4 separate regions of the Homo sapiens genome follow, and regions 2, 3 and 4 are each linked to region 1. Evidence: promoter capture Hi-C in 16 types of primary human blood cells and fetal thymus (Javierre and others, 2016). All regions are on one chromosome and are shown on one strand. The core of a region is centred on a gene start or on the middle of the fragment in contact, and the rest is flanking DNA. Distances in the headings are between cores, read along the strand shown. Region 1 holds the start of POT1 (protection of telomeres 1). Region 2 holds the start of SND1 (staphylococcal nuclease and tudor domain containing 1). Region 3 holds the start of GCC1 (GRIP and coiled-coil domain containing 1). Region 4 holds the start of GRM8 (glutamate metabotropic receptor 8).

Region 1 (3,603 bases), core at 459-2,958:
GAGACTGACTGGGCAACATAGTGAGAACTCGTCTCCACAAAATTTTTTTAAAAAATTAGCCGGGTGTGGTGGCCTGTGCCTGTAGTCCCAGCTACTTAGAAGGCTGAGGCCAGAGGATAGCTTGAGCCCAGGAGTTCCAGGCTGCAGCGAGCTATGATCTCGCCACTGCACTTCAGCCTGGGCGACAGAGCAAGAGCCTGGGAGAATGTGTTTAAATGGTGACGGGAAAGAATGAATAAAAGAAGGAAAGCTTAAAATACATTAAGAGAAAATATATTGATGATGATGGAAGGGAGATGAAATTGGTCAGGGTCCAAAGCCCATGTGGAGGGCTTCACATAAAAAGGAGGAATAGTATTTCTCAGCCGGATGCAGCCAGAGATGGAAGGAGGATAGCATCTAAACCTTCCCTATAGTTTTCCTCAAATGGACAGCTCCTGAGTTCATGCACTTGTCACCCCGGCTTCTGCGTGGGATATAACTACAGGGATGGGGAGGGGAAACAGGAGATGGGCTAATACTGAATGCTTCCTGTTGATTAAAAAGGCACTTCAAACATAGCTGGCTGGGCACAGTGGCTCATGTCTGTAATCCCAGCACTTTGGGAGGCCAAGGTGGGCGGATCACAAGGTCAGGAGTTCGAGACCAGCCTGGCCAAAATGGGAAACCCCGTCTCTACTAAACAAATACAAAAATTAGCCAGGCATGGTGGCCTGCGCCTGTAATCCCAGCTACTAGGGAGGCTGAGGCAGAAGAATTGCTTGAACCCGGGAGGTGGGGGTTGCAGTTAGCCGAGATTGCGCCATTGCACTCCAGCCTGGTGACAGAGCGAGATTCCGTCTCAAAAAAAAAAAAAAAGTTAGCTATATCCTCCTGCAAATATGTATATAAAGAAGATATTTTAGTTCAAATTAGCCTTGGAAATATTCATGTAATTCTTTATTACATTTAGTTTCACACTAGGATGATTTCACTTAAATGATTGAAGGCATATATCTGGAATTAGCAGAGAATTCATGTTTAACAATTTATCATTATAAATGATAAATTATAATATTTATCAATTATAAGTTATAATAAATATTAAATAAACTATAATAAACCTATAAAATAAATTATAATAAATATTAATTATACCACAAAATCATGGCCCTATAAAACAATGACAAGGTTAATCAAATCTGTCTGTAAATAGCAAGACTCAATGGTGGCATTATGCCAATGCCCGAAATTACTATAAAAACTCCCAAATAACATTGTTATCCTTGTAAATGCTTCCTTGTAAAGACTGCAGTAGGTGCCTATTTCTTGGAGGAAGAGAACTGGACATTAAAAGAAAGGCTCTGCCTACAGGAGCTTCGAATCTACCAAAGGGAAGCTCAAATCCCGCCCAGCGGACCCGCCCGCTTCCCCTAAGCTTGCCTCCCGCCACGAAAGCTGGAAAGTCACTGGGGGCGGAGCTAAGGGGAGCTGCGAGAATTCCGGGGGATGTGACCGGACTGGGCGGGGCCTGTACCTTGGCCCTGCGCTCCCGTTGACGTCGCATCCTGTCAGTATTTCGCCAAACCTCCAGGCGCCATCAGTGTGTGAACCGTTACGCAGCTGGTCCACCGCGGGCGGAGAACAAGCGACTATGCCCAGGGATCCTGCACGCATGCGTGGAGCTGAACCGTCAGCGTGCGTGTGACGTCACCTGCGCGCCCGCCTAAACTCTTCCTAGGGTTCTTTCTAGAGTACGGGTGAGTGAAATTTGTAAGGTTTGGTGTGTTCATTTGAGTGGGTGCCAGACGTAACGGGCCCGGGATTGAATTAGTTTAGATCAAAATTTGATGTAATTATCGCAGAGAAACGCTTTCTTACGAGTGTTTATCTCGAGCCTGCTGTGTTCAGCATCTTTCTTGGTGTTTTGGGAGAAGCAGACAGGAGTTAAGTCCAAGTCCCCGCCCTCACAGAGCTCAGGTGGCTTGGGGGAAGGTTGGTGCGCAAACATTAAAATTAGATATCGACACTAGTGAGTGTCCCCGTCAAGAGGTCTGTGAAATAAGGTTGAGCCTACGATGCAGAAGTTAATCTCAGTTCAGTAATTTTTGTTTCTTCATTTATTTAGCGGGTGAAGGGAGGGGGCCACAGAAACATGTTGGAGTACGATGCTTTTGGTGCACAGTTTGTCTATACAATATTACAGCTCCCGTGGGGGTTAAAAAAAAACACGATTTTTCAGCCTCCCTCTTCCCCAATAAATTTTACATTTTAAAGCACAATGTTAAAAGCGTTTGTTAGTGACGTTACAGATCTTAAAACTGGCTTTTTGGAGGTACTTTACGCAGCTAAGTAGAAAATGGTTAAGTTTCAGTTCCTTGGAAGAATGTTTTGTATTGATCTTTGCAATAAAATTGTAAAATAATCCATCCTCCTGTCACCCCCCAACCCCGAACCGTGTTAACTATAATAAGGAAAAGCATAACTAAGTCAAAGAGACTTAAAGCAAATTATTGACTTCATTTTGGGTAAAACACTGGTTTTGTATTTTCAGCAGCAAGTTGTCAGATTCCCTAGTTGAATTTGCTTTGGACATCAGTGTGAAGCAGAACTGATATGCCACTTGAATTAATAAAGGAAGTCAATGGGGTGCCTGAAGTTCAGCCGCTGAGTAAATTACATAAAGTAGATTTCGGATCCCTACAGCCAGGTTACAATTATAGCAAGAAATATATTCAGGTAAGAATTTCTATAACTCAGAATGCTTTTTCCTACTAAAAGGAATGCAGTTTTTAAGTGTTGAGTTTATTTATGAGAACTGGTTTAGGTATGGTTTTTATCTTTGTCATAACATTTGAGATTGAATATTTCAATAAGTTATTCTTATTCAGTACTTATTTAGCGAACAATTATCAAATTCGTGTGTGAAACATTGGAGTAAGTTTCTGAGGTACAAAGATGAATAAATATAGTCCCGGAACTAAAGATAATCACATTTCTGTGGGGTCTGACAGATCAATCACCTGATCTCCAATTAAAATTAATAGGTGTGATATTAGCATTGTGATGTGTGAACATGAGAGAGCTTTTGGTTCTGACAGATCACGAAAGTTGAGCTGGAACTTACGGGATAACAGACTGTGCTGTACCTTCCTTTGAGGTAAAAAGCAGTCCTTATGTGCATGTTGAGGAATTTGGATATTACTCTAAAAGCTATGGGAAGTCTTTAGTAGGTTTTAGCAGGAGAAAGACATGATTTACTTTGAGTTCAAAAAACTTTGCTCCTAGGTAGAGAATATATTGGCGAATGCAAGATTAGAGGAAAGATGTTTAGTTAAGAGGCAATTACAGTAATTTAGGTGAGAGTTGATGATGATCTGGGCCAGTGGCAGAGGGGATGATGGGAAGGATATTGAAAAAAGATAGTAATAATAATAACTAAAGTTAACATTCATTGCATTTTTTTCCATGCGTTAGGTAGTTTTTACGTATATTATTTAATCATCACAAAGACCTATGACATAGGTACTGTTATTAAAGACACTGTGTTTCAGAAAGGTTAAGCAATTTGCCTGAGATCATATTGATGATATGAAGTAGAGCAGGAATTTGAATATAGATGAT
Region 2 (3,603 bases), core at 296-2,795, 2.7 Mb before region 1:
GGGCGAGGGGATCTTAAAATCAGCTTTACACACACATAAGCTGCAGAACATTTTAATCTTGTGAAAGATAACAGGGTAATAAAATAGAATTTTTTTTAAACTGGGTCTTGCTATGTTGCCCAGGCTGATCTCCAACTCCTGGCCTCAAGCAATCCTCCCACCTCGGCCTCCTAAGTGCTGGGATTACCACCATGAGCCACCGCACCAGGCCTAAAATAGAATTTTTCAAAACTTTCTACAACAGCAAAACTTGTGGAGCCTTGGGAGAAAGTATCACAAAAGATATTTGCTGTTGCAGATACAAATGTCAGAACTGCAGTATGAAACGACATCTAGAAGTTTACAGTCATCATAAACCAGAAAATTGGTAAAACCAAGAAATGTCAGGTTCCAAGATTTGGAAGGGTTTTGGGGAGGACAACTGGGGGCAAGTGATAAACTGAATTTATATTATCAAATTATCATGGAGCTAGGAGTAAATTGTAAAAATAAACTTTGCAGGTTCAAATTCAAAATTGAAGAATTTTCAAAAAGTTGAGGGTATATAAAATCAGGCAGAATCTATAGTGCTATGAGCACTAGACCAGGAATCCGAACACTTGGGCTCTTGCTATGGCTCCAACCCAAACCACCATGTGACCTTAAGCAAGTCACTTGCCTTCTTCAAGCCTATCTCCTTATCTTTAAGGGACGGGAGAACAATGATGATTACTAAGATTCTTGCCGGCCTAACCTTTTAGAAGTCAAAAGTACACAAAGATCAGGAGCTTTCAGGTCGACACAAGAGGTGGAGGGAAAGAGAGGAAAAGAGGGCCACAGAGTGAGAAAACTTGGGAGTCAAGTAACAGCGTTTGTGGGAACAGAAAAGTTTCATGATGGCCAAGTACTAGTAGAGAAGAGCCGATGTCAGGATCTCGAAAAACTACTAACTACTCAGCATATGTCAAAATGAACAGAAAGACGGGGGATGGGAGGACAGATATCAACGAATTGTCTCTGTTAATCAATCAGTAATCGATCTGTCCTGGTAAACAGACAGGAGATCCGAATGCCGCAACCTCGGAAATCACTGTGACCCCTGATGTCAAGGTGTCCGGGAGGCAAGGAACAAGGGGACTCCGTGTCTGCTTCCGTCTAGTGAGAGGATTCGGAGAATCGACGAAAAGTGAGGAAGGGGGCAGAGGAAAGGGGATCTGGGACATGGAGCAGGCTGGCGGAAGGTGGAGTCAATGCCTGACTCCCGCCCGAAGGCAGGCAGAGGGGTCGGTGTCCGGGGCCCGTTCTCACCATCTTGATGATGCCCCGCTGCACGGTGGGGACCGCGGGTCCCCCGGAGGAGCCGCCGCTCTGCGCGGAGGACGCCATGTGTGGAGATGCAAAGGCAACGAGTGGAGCGGCTGGCCGGACTGGAGGTGTCAATGTGGGTGTCGGTGTTGGTGAAAGGGAGTCGAGGCGAGGGGCAGGCTGGCTACCAGCTGCGGACGGTGGACGGGACGGACTCGCCGGGCGCTCACAGGAGCAGCAGCGGGACACGGAGCGAAAGAGACGCGATCTCCGCCGCCGCCACACGTTCTACTCGCCGCGCAAGCGTGCCAGAGCGCCACCGCCCTCCGCCCAATTAGCGCCCAGAGCCCGCCGGCCCTCAGGCCAATAGGCACCCTGCTCGCGGAGCCCCGCCTCTTGGTCCCCAAAACGGTGGTGAGTTCCAGGAAGCGCTGAAAGAGTTGATTTGCAAGGATGGGCTAAATATGGGGCGGGACTTCCGGGGCAGCCGGAGTAGGTAATGTCGGGAGGTGTAGTGGGAAGGAAAGGACACGTCAGCATCTGGCCGCGGGGCGCGGGGGGCCATGGGAGCCCCAGGGGCGGAGCCAGCCGCGCCCTCCCGCCTGACCTCGCCCATGACGTCCTTCCCCGCTGGCCTCAGGGGCGCACACTTGTATACCCACCTAGGTGGGCGCCGCTGTACCCGGGAATGCGGCCTGGGAGGGTGGAGCCACGCAGGCAGAGTCCTGGAGGAATCTCCGTACCCGCTCCACTCGACTTCCGACATTTTACCTTGGCTAAAAGTATGGAGAGAACTTGGAAAATCAGAGCTTTGTGGAACCTCCTACCGATGTGGGCTTTGACCTGCCACGCGGCCGCGCGCCCTTTTTGTAGTCAGAGAGTGTGCCTCGCCCTTGTTTGTGTCGCTGGGGTCTAGCACTTGTGAGGCGTTCCATTAATGTTTGTTGGTGGGAGGAATAAATGTCTCAGAGGAAGGACATGCCACGTATACAGGGGAGAGTGACCCTCGTTCTTCGGTCTCTTCCCAGCTGCTCCCGTGACGTTAGGGAAAAGGCTCGCTTCACGCTCTCACCCGACCCAGTGTGAAGCGCCTCCAGCCACCGGATACCTTCCCTAGCCCCAGTAAAAAGGTCGGGGAAGGAACGGGAAAGCCAAGGCCTACAAATATTTAAGTGACTGTTTAGCGAGAACTAATATTCGTTGAGTGCCCACTATGTGGAACCAAGGACCTTGCATGTGTTATGTCATTTAATCGTAAAACTTGGCTCTACACTGAAGACAGTACTTCCCTTGCAGTTCTTTTTGTTTCTTTGGTTTTGTGGCTTTTTTGAGACAAAGTCTCGCTCTGTCGCTCAGGCTGGAGTGCGGGGGCACGATCACGGCTCACTGCAGCCTTGACACTCCCAGGCTCAAGCGATCCTCCTGCCTCAGTCTCCGGTGTAGCTGGAGCTGGTACCACGGGTCCGCGCTACCACGCCCAGCTAATTTTTTTTTTGTAGAGCTGAGATTTCACTATGTTGCCCAGGCTGGTCTCCTGGGCTCAAGCTATACTCCTACCTCGGCCTCCTAAAGTGCTGGTATTACATGCATTAACCACAGTGCATGGCCCCTTGCTCTCTTAAAAGATTGTAAGTTTATTCTCCCACACTAAACATATCCCAGGGTTAAGTTTTGAGGTCACCTTCTTAGATCCCTAATTTGCCACCCTTTTCCAAAAAAAAAAAAAAAAAAAAAAAAAACCTCTGTGGAAGTTGGTTCCATCAGATTATACCCCTCTCTATCTCGTGGCTTTTTATCTACCGTACCCCTATTTCTACCGTGTCATTCATTGAAATTGTTAACACTTGGTGCACGGTCTTCAGCCAATAATCCTGAAATACTTCAATATCTACGAGCATGACTTATCCCATACCCTGACCTCTTTGCTCCTTGATCTCATCTTCAGTAAACTTGACCTCTGCACCAATTTAGGACGTTCTCCAGACAGATAAAACACCATAACTTCATAGGTACGATTGTAAACTCAAACACTTTGTCTTTGATCATAACTGCTGTCCTCTCTCCCTTCTCATTCAGTTAATTATCTTATATCTTGTATTAGTTACATAACAATTTGCCCCAAAACTTAAATACTAAAGAAAACAATAAGCATTTATCTCACAGTTTTTGTGGGTAAGGAATCTGGGGTGGGTGCCTGCCTTTTCCTCCAGGTCTTCTCTTATAAAGCTGCAGTCAAGGTGTCAAGGGGAGTTGGGAAGGGGACTGTGGTCTCATCTGAAGGTCCTCCTCTGACTGAAGGTAGATTGCTTCCCAAGCTCA
Region 3 (3,603 bases), core at 743-3,242, 2.7 Mb before region 1:
CTTCCAGCGGACACGGAAGCGCCGTTGTCGGCAGGCAGCTTTAGTTAGGATGTCGTGATGGGACCGAGCTCAGCGTAACCCTCTGGCCGACGTGGGCCGAGGGGGCCGGCCCGGGCTGCTGTGGCCCAGACGAGCGGAGAGTGCGGAGCGGCTTCTGGGCCAGCGCTAACGAGCCCTGGCAGTGCGCACCTCTGGTGCCAGTGTCGCCCCGCCTCCGGGGTAGAATCCGCCCCAGCCCTCCGGGCCTGGGACCGGGCGGCCGCTTTCGCCAGTCCGTCCGGCCGTTCCGCATTAGGTCCGGGATAACTAGGTGGAGTAGGTGTGCGGCCCGCCGCCGGACAGCCCGCTCGCTGTTTCTTTAAGCCCCCGCCTGCGTCTTCACGGCCCTCTCCCGTTCTGCTGGAAAGCTGACGTGGGGCAATCCGTTCAGACCCTCCATGGAGAAGTTTGGGATGAATTTCGGGGGCGGCCCGAGCAAGAAGGACTTGCTGGAGACTATAGAGACCCAGAAGAAGCAGCTTCTCCAGTACCAGGCACGGCTCAAGGATGTGGTCCGTGCCTATAAAAGCCTGCTGAAGGAGAAAGAGGCATTAGAGGCCAGCATCAAGGTGCTGTCGGTATCCCACGAGGCAGATGTGGGCCTCGCAGGTGTCCAGCTTCCAGGCCTCACCTTTCCTGACTCTGTGGATGACCGGTGCTCCACTCACAGCGAGGATAGCACTGGGACCGCCACTAGCTTGGATACTGCGGCCAGTCTCACCAGCACCAAGGGTGAGTTTGGGGTAGAAGATGACAGACCGGCCCGTGGACCACCACCTCCAAAGTCCGAAGAGGCCAGTTGGTCCGAGAGTGGCGTTAGCAGTAGCAGTGGGGATGGGCCATTTGCAGGTGGGGAGGTGGACAAAAGACTGCACCAGCTGAAGACTCAGTTGGCTACTTTGACCAGTTCTTTGGCTACAGTCACTCAGGAGAAGTCCCGCATGGAGGCTTCTTACTTGGCTGACAAGAAAAAGATGAAACAGGACTTAGAGGATGCCAGTAACAAGGCGGAGGAGGAGAGGGCCCGCCTGGAGGGAGAATTGAAGGGGCTGCAGGAGCAAATAGCAGAAACCAAAGCCCGGCTTATCACGCAGCAGCATGATCGGGCCCAAGAGCAGAGTGACCATGCCTTGATGCTGCGTGAGCTCCAGAAGCTGCTGCAGGAGGAGAGGACCCAGCGCCAGGACTTGGAGCTTAGGTTAGAAGAGACCCGAGAAGCCTTGGCAGGACGAGCATATGCAGCTGAACAGATGGAAGGATTTGAACTGCAGACCAAGCAGCTGACCCGTGAGGTGGAGGAGCTGAAAAGTGAACTGCAGGCCATTCGAGATGAGAAGAATCAGCCAGATCCCCGGCTGCAAGAACTTCAGGAAGAGGCTGCCCGCCTTAAGAGCCATTTCCAGGCTCAGTTACAGCAGGAAATGAGAAAGGTAATTATCCATATCTCTTTCAAACATCAGCCATTGACCTGAAGTGAGAAATATTAGGGTTTTTTTCCTCCTTTGCTAGTTAGAGCTAAGTGTCTATACTGTCATTTTTGATGCCACCTGAGAAGTTCCACTAGTGAACCTGGGAAGTCCTGTTCTATGCGGTGTTGACATATGTGCTTCCAGGAGGATGTGGAGCTTCTCAGTGTAGGCTGGGTTGAAGCCAGACAGCTCTGCACTTCTGGGCATTGGCATCTTACCAGCTGTGCTCTATGAAGCAGTATAGTGGCAGCTGTATAGTAAAAGGTAGCGTGTCTTCTGTTGGTATGTGCCTCTAGGAAGAGTGGCCGAAGGCAAAGGGGATTTTCTCAGAAGTAACCTCTTGTCATTGCCTTTACTCAAGATGTGCCTGTTCTGGAGAAGTGCTATTTTCCAGAACAGGTATTGAAAGGGTGCCTCCTTTCAATGTGGAGAGGGAGATCCAGCGCAGTTTTGAACTTCCAGGAATATTGGATAAGGAAAAGAATGCTGTATGATTTCTTAATAGGATTTGAGGAAGCACCTGAGAAACAACAGTAACACACATTATATGTGGTTAGGTGGAAAGCAGAACAATAGCAGATGTACCAAGGTGCTTCATATTGTTCAGTATAATATGTGTCTTGCAGAATCCAAGCAGGTAATAGGAACTTTTGTTAGCTCCTGAATCAACCGAAAAATCCCTAGTTAGCATTCTTGCCAGGCCATCCCAAACCTGTGACCCTTTTGCTCCCCTCTCCTGCTTTCTCAGAGTTTGCTGTGGGGCTTTTGTGGATGCATTTTTGTCTGTTCCCTTGTTTTGCAGACAGCTCTTGCAGAGGATCAACTCCGTCAGCAATCTCAGGTAGAAGAACAGAGGGTGGCAGCCCTGGAGAATCAAATATCCGAGGTGTCTGAGCTGCTAGGCACCTACGAGAAAGCCAAGCAGAAGGACCAGCTGGCCATTCAGAAGCTGAAGGAGCGCATTCTGCAGCTGGACCTGGAGAACAAGACACTGGCTCTAGCAGCCTCCAGCAGGTCCCCTTTAGACAGCCATGGAGAGGAGTCCAGTCTGGATGTCAATGTCCTGAAAGATAAGATGGAGAAGCTGAAGAGGCTGCTGCAGGTTGCGGCCAGGAAAAGCCAGGTGACCCTGGATGTGGAGAAGCTCTGTGACCTGGAGATAATGCCCAGCTCGGAGGCTGCTGATGGGGAGAAGGCTACTGCACTCTATTACCAACAGGAGCTGAAACAGCTGAAGGAAGAGTTTGAGAGGTACAAGATGAGAGCCCAGGTTGTCCTCAAAAGCAAGAATACCAAAGATGGTAACCTGGGAAAGGAGCTGGAGGCAGCCCAGGAACAGCTTGCAGAGCTGAAGGAGAAGTATATTTCCCTGCGGCTCTCCTGCGAGGAGCTGGAGCACCAACACCAGCAGGAGGCTGATGACTGGAAGCAGGAGCTGGCCCGGCTGCAGCAGCTCCACCGGCAGGAGCTGGAGCGGTGCCAGCTGGACTTCAGGGACCGCACACTGAAACTGGAGGAGGAGCTGCACAAGCAGCGGGATCGTGCCCTAGCTGTGCTCACCGAGAAGGACTTGGAACTGGAGCAACTGCGTTCTGTGGCCTTGGCCTCTGGGCTGCCAGGACGCAGAAGTCCTGTGGGTGGTGGCGGTCCTGGGGACCCAGCTGACACATCATCCTCTGATAGCCTGACCCAAGCATTACAACTTGCAGCGGCCAATGAGCCCACTTTCTTTCTGTACGCTGAGCAACTGGCCCGCAAGGAGGTGGAGATCACATCACTGAGGAAGCAGAAGCACAGGCTGGAGGTCGAGGTGCATCAGCTGCAGGATCGGCTGCTGGAGGAGGGCGAACGGCATCGTGAGGAGGTTGCAGCCCTGCAGAGCCACATCGAAAAGAACATCAGGGACCAGAGCAGGGAGGGAGCCAATCTGGAGTACCTCAAAAACATCATCTACCGCTTCCTGACCTTACCTGACTCCCTGGGCCGCCAGCAGACTCTCACAGCCATACTGACTATCTTGCACTTCAGTCCAGAGGAGAAACAAGTGATAATGCGACTCCCAACCAGTGCCAGCTGGTGGCCTTCTGGCAAGAGA
Region 4 (3,603 bases), core at 476-2,975, 2.3 Mb before region 1:
ATGGGAGAAGGAAGGGAACGAAAGGGGAAGAGGTGCCCTGGGCTGAAAACCTGTAGATTTTTTCTAAGTGACAAAGGGCAAGGGTCCTTTTTTGAAATTAGGAGAGAGACAGCTGTTTCCTCAATCGAAACTTCGCACATTACAACCAGCCTTGGGAAAAGCCAACACCACCAGGGAGGAAGTGCTATGGGGTTTTGAAGCCAGACACTGATTTCTGGCTGTAATACTTTCCAGCCGTGTCTCTAAGCCTCGGCTTCTGCCTCCATCTGTAGAGTGGGCTTAATAATTTTGACCATCTCACAGAGTTGATGTGAAAATTAAAATAACCCGAACAGAACAGGCGATATATACAGGAATTAATGAAAGATTCCTGACATAATGCTTATAAGTTCATGATGCTTAGGAAGATAAAATTCATTGTAGAGATGCCGAACGGGGGTCTAGAGCTTGCCTTTTCGGGGTCTCTCCCGTCCTTCTCCATCCTCCTTATCTCCTGGGCTGCCCCCTCTCCCCCCGCGCCCCGCTCTCCCTGGCTCGCCCGGGCCTAGGGCGCCGCCTGCAGTTGCGCGCGGCCGCCTCTAGATGGAACTTTCTCACCAACGCAAGGCCCGGCCGGAGCAGCTACCCGGGAGCTGGGCGGCGAGGGGCTACTTTCTCTCATTCCGGCGGGTGCAGGATCGGGGGGCCTGGGCAGTAACTAGTGGGGAGGAGCGCTGGACTGTGCACGTCGAGCCCGGCAGGTTTCCGCATGCGGCATGCGAAGGGAATCCCGAGGTTTCCCTGCAGAACCCGAGCACGGCTCCCCCGGAGTTTCCTGCCCCGCGTCTGCGGCTCCTTGAATCATCTCAATAAAATGACCGTCCCGGTAGCCACCCATGCCCCTTCCTGCGCAGTGCCCGCAGCGGACCGCGCTGTGTGGTACCTCGAGCCCTGGGGACTCTGTTGCACGCGTCCCTCAGACCCTCGGGGGCGGGGAGTGGGGAGACAATCGCCAGAGCCGCGGGGCGGGACAAATGGCGGAACCGCCGCGCGGCGCCAGGCAAACTTTGCAAGGGAACCGCGCGGCTTGCCGGCTCTACTTTAAGCATTCCCGAAAAGAAAGCATGTGGCGGGACACTTGTCATCTACCATGTGTTATTCTCGGTGACGCTTTCTGGAGCTGTGTTCACCGGGGACCCGGGCTCGCGGGTGCTGCCCGCTGTGCTCGGGCGGGCGTCGCGCCTCCCCGCGCCGGTCCCGGGCTCGCCAGGCAGCCGGAGCCGCTGGGCTCCTCCACAACCATATTCCTTCTTCTACCGCTCCCGCTTCTTCCCACCCTCTCACTCTGTAGTTGGGTCCTCCCCTTTTTCTTGGGGGCGGGGAAGGGGGGATGATTTTTAAAAATCAGAACTATTGACATTTCTGGTCTCCTCGTCGCTTCAGGCTGAAGAGCGGAGGGGGATCCGCGGGCCGAGGGTCCCCCTCCCTGCCCGCGCCAGGGCCGCTGGGTGACACCGAAATCCAGAGGCTCCCGCCCCTCGGGGGTTCCTCCTCCCGCTTCCCGAGGTGACTGGTTGGCGCGAAGCGATTGGCGATCCCGGGCGCGATCCTGGCCGCGGCTCCCCGCGCCGCGCCGGGTGAATGGCCGCGGGCGGAGGATCGGGAGGCGCCGGGCGCAGACCAATCGCGGCCGCCGGTGGGAGTATTTGTTATTCACATGGAAGAGACTTGGCGCCTGCTAGGCCAGCTCAGCCCCCTCAGCCCAGAGATCAGCCACAAGTGCGGCCGCTGTGCTCGCCTCACGCGGCGGCGGCGGCGGCGGCGGCGGCGCTGACATGGAGCTGCGGGCCCCCGGCGGGCTTCCTCACCGCGCCCTCTGCGGGGAGCAGGGTAAGACTCGCCGCCCGGCAGCAGAAAGCGGCTCCGAGGAAAGCAAGTGCCGAACCACGGGACAAAAAGCCCCTGGCCCCCAAACTTCCCCAAAACGCCCTGCTTGTTGGAAAAGGAGAATCCCCCCGTTTTATTCCCCTTTCCGTTTTCTTCTCTAAAACCTTTCAGCGGACAGCCAGGTGCACCATTCCTTCTCATATCACTCTAGTGATTTGTTTTTCCTGAGCACAAGTAGATGGCCCTGCATGTCCGTAGTCTGTGAGAGAAATAGCGGGCGGAGGTGACGGGAATGGGGGGAGAAGGAGAGTGGGCACCAGGGGGCGAGGGGCTGGCCGGGCATTGGAGCTTGATTGGGTGTCTGTTGATTTTACGTTGCAAAGAACAAGGCAGCCACCCCTCTTGTCTGCCCATGATTACATTACAGTAAAGAGGTTCAGAAAAGAGGGAGACTTTACCCGGAACTCCCAAGGCTTGGAGATGTGATCCCCCAAAAGTTTAGTCGGCGAATGGGAGACTGAAGGGTGACGGGAAGGGGGCAGGCGCGCTCGGCGCTCTGACTGGGCGTGCGGCGGCAGGATTTTAAAGCGCTCTGCCTCGGATCGTCTGCCCTGGGTGACCTCCCGGACCTGCCCTGGTGGAATCCGGACTTGCCCCGCCGAGATGACGAGGTACCTTCGTTTCGCGAACCTAACAGGAGGGATTTCTGAAGTTAGCGGCTTCCGGGATGAGTCGGGGTAACCCCCGCCCTCTGAGCGTGGGCTGGATGGATGTCTAACCAGGATCTAGGGAGGATGGGGGTCGCGGGGGAAGCCGGGCGCTTCGGGGTCCTCGACACCCACATCCCCGCACGGCGCACGCTCTGCCTCGAGTTTGCGTTCTCCGAGTTAGCACGGCGAGCTTGGGATTTCCGTGCCCCTCTTTTGTGGCTTTCGAGAAACGCCGGAGTTCCGTGTCCTGCTGGGGGTTGGGGGGATGGAGAAAAGGTCTCGGGGATCTTGTTTAAAAAGCAAAGGCAAACGCACCCCAACAGCTCCTCGGTAGCTCCCGCGGCTGGCGCGGCCCCAGTTTCGGGCGGCCCCGCGCGGGGCGTGGGCGCGGGCGCTCGGGCGGCCAGGTGCGGCGGGGGCGGAGGCTGCATCCCCAGCGCGCCGGAATGCCCCGGGGCGCGGGAAAGGCAAAAGCAGCCTGGCGCTCTCCCCACGGCCCCAGTCTCTATCTACCCAGAACCCGGCTTCAACAGCCCAAGGAACTGAGAAGAAAAAGGAACCTGCGCTGGGAAACAGGGGCTCCTGGCGGGCTGAGTGGTCGCTGTTATGGTAGAGATAGAAACGGAGAGGTAGAGATGGACCGCTCAGCCATGCCAAGCGCGAAGCCCATCCGCCCAGCCAGAAAGCTCGGATATCCCTTGAGCTTCGTACAGTTGGTGAAAAAATAACAGAATCACCAAAAAAGAAAAAAAAATTCCCTTCGTCTGACACGCGCTCCCTTGGTGCAAATGAAATGCGGAGGGACACGCGAGTCACCCAGTTGCGCAAAACCGCACCCCCGCGGTTCCCTGGGGAATTACTTCCCCCGTGGCCCAAACTGTGAAGCCTGGTGTCAGAGAGTGTCTGCGCACCCAAGATAGCGGGGGTGAAAACAGACCCCCTCGCCGGTTGCAGAAACCCTTAAGTCCCCTAAGCAAGTCCCACCCCGGGAGGGAGTGCCTTATTTGCCATTTGGGGGATCCTTTCC

The links. Contacts are between HindIII fragments. The CHiCAGO score rates a contact against its expected background, and 5 or more counts as called.
Region 2: a contact is called between the fragment with the promoter of SND1 here and the fragment with the promoter of POT1 in region 1, in 9 of 17 cell types (non-activated CD4 T cells, naive CD8 T cells, total B cells and 6 more). The highest score is 23.8, in non-activated CD4 T cells.
Region 3: a fragment that was not itself captured here is called in contact with the fragment with the promoter of POT1 in region 1 in 1 of 17 cell types (total CD4 T cells); the score reaches 5.9 in total CD4 T cells.
Region 4: the fragment with the promoter of GRM8 here is called in contact with the fragment with the promoter of POT1 in region 1 in 1 of 17 cell types (activated CD4 T cells); the score reaches 8.3 in activated CD4 T cells.

What each region holds. Positions count from the first base shown.
Region 1 is chr7:124,927,930-124,931,532 of GRCh38, reverse strand. POT1 (protection of telomeres 1) reads left to right here and starts at 1,708. Exons shown (of 19, transcript NM_015450.3): 1 at 1,708-1,739; 2 at 2,534-2,718. POT1-AS1 (POT1 antisense RNA 1) reads right to left here and starts at 1,660. Exons shown (of 8, transcript NR_125719.1): 1 at 1,517-1,660. RefSeq lists enhancers at 1,424-1,718, 1,473-1,772. The HindIII fragment of the contact is 3,988 bases long and covers 1,420-3,603 here.
Region 2 is chr7:127,650,136-127,653,738 of GRCh38, reverse strand. It overlaps SND1 (staphylococcal nuclease and tudor domain containing 1), which reads right to left and starts at 1,545. Exons shown (of 24, transcript NM_014390.4): 1 at 1,288-1,545. The coding sequence starts at 1,365. It overlaps SND1-DT (SND1 divergent transcript), which reads left to right and starts at 1,907. Exons shown (of 2, transcript NR_186577.1): 1 at 1,907-2,066. RefSeq lists enhancers at 1,327-1,506, 1,331-1,949 and a silencer at 1,747-1,996. The HindIII fragment of the contact is 9,151 bases long and covers 1-3,603 here.
Region 3 is chr7:127,582,017-127,585,619 of GRCh38, reverse strand. It overlaps GCC1 (GRIP and coiled-coil domain containing 1), which reads left to right and starts at 24. Exons shown (of 2, transcript NM_024523.6): 1 at 24-1,469; 2 at 2,311-3,603. The coding sequence starts at 438. All of the region lies in intron 1 of LOC105375490 (a long non-coding RNA gene), which reads left to right. RefSeq lists enhancers at 1-675, 676-1,676, 1,395-2,594. The HindIII fragment of the contact is 4,362 bases long and covers 1-3,603 here.
Region 4 is chr7:127,251,063-127,254,665 of GRCh38, reverse strand. GRM8 (glutamate metabotropic receptor 8) reads left to right here and starts at 1,725. Exons shown (of 11, transcript NM_000845.3): 1 at 1,725-1,869. RefSeq lists a silencer at 458-517 and an enhancer at 638-887. The HindIII fragment of the contact is 9,242 bases long and covers 1-3,603 here.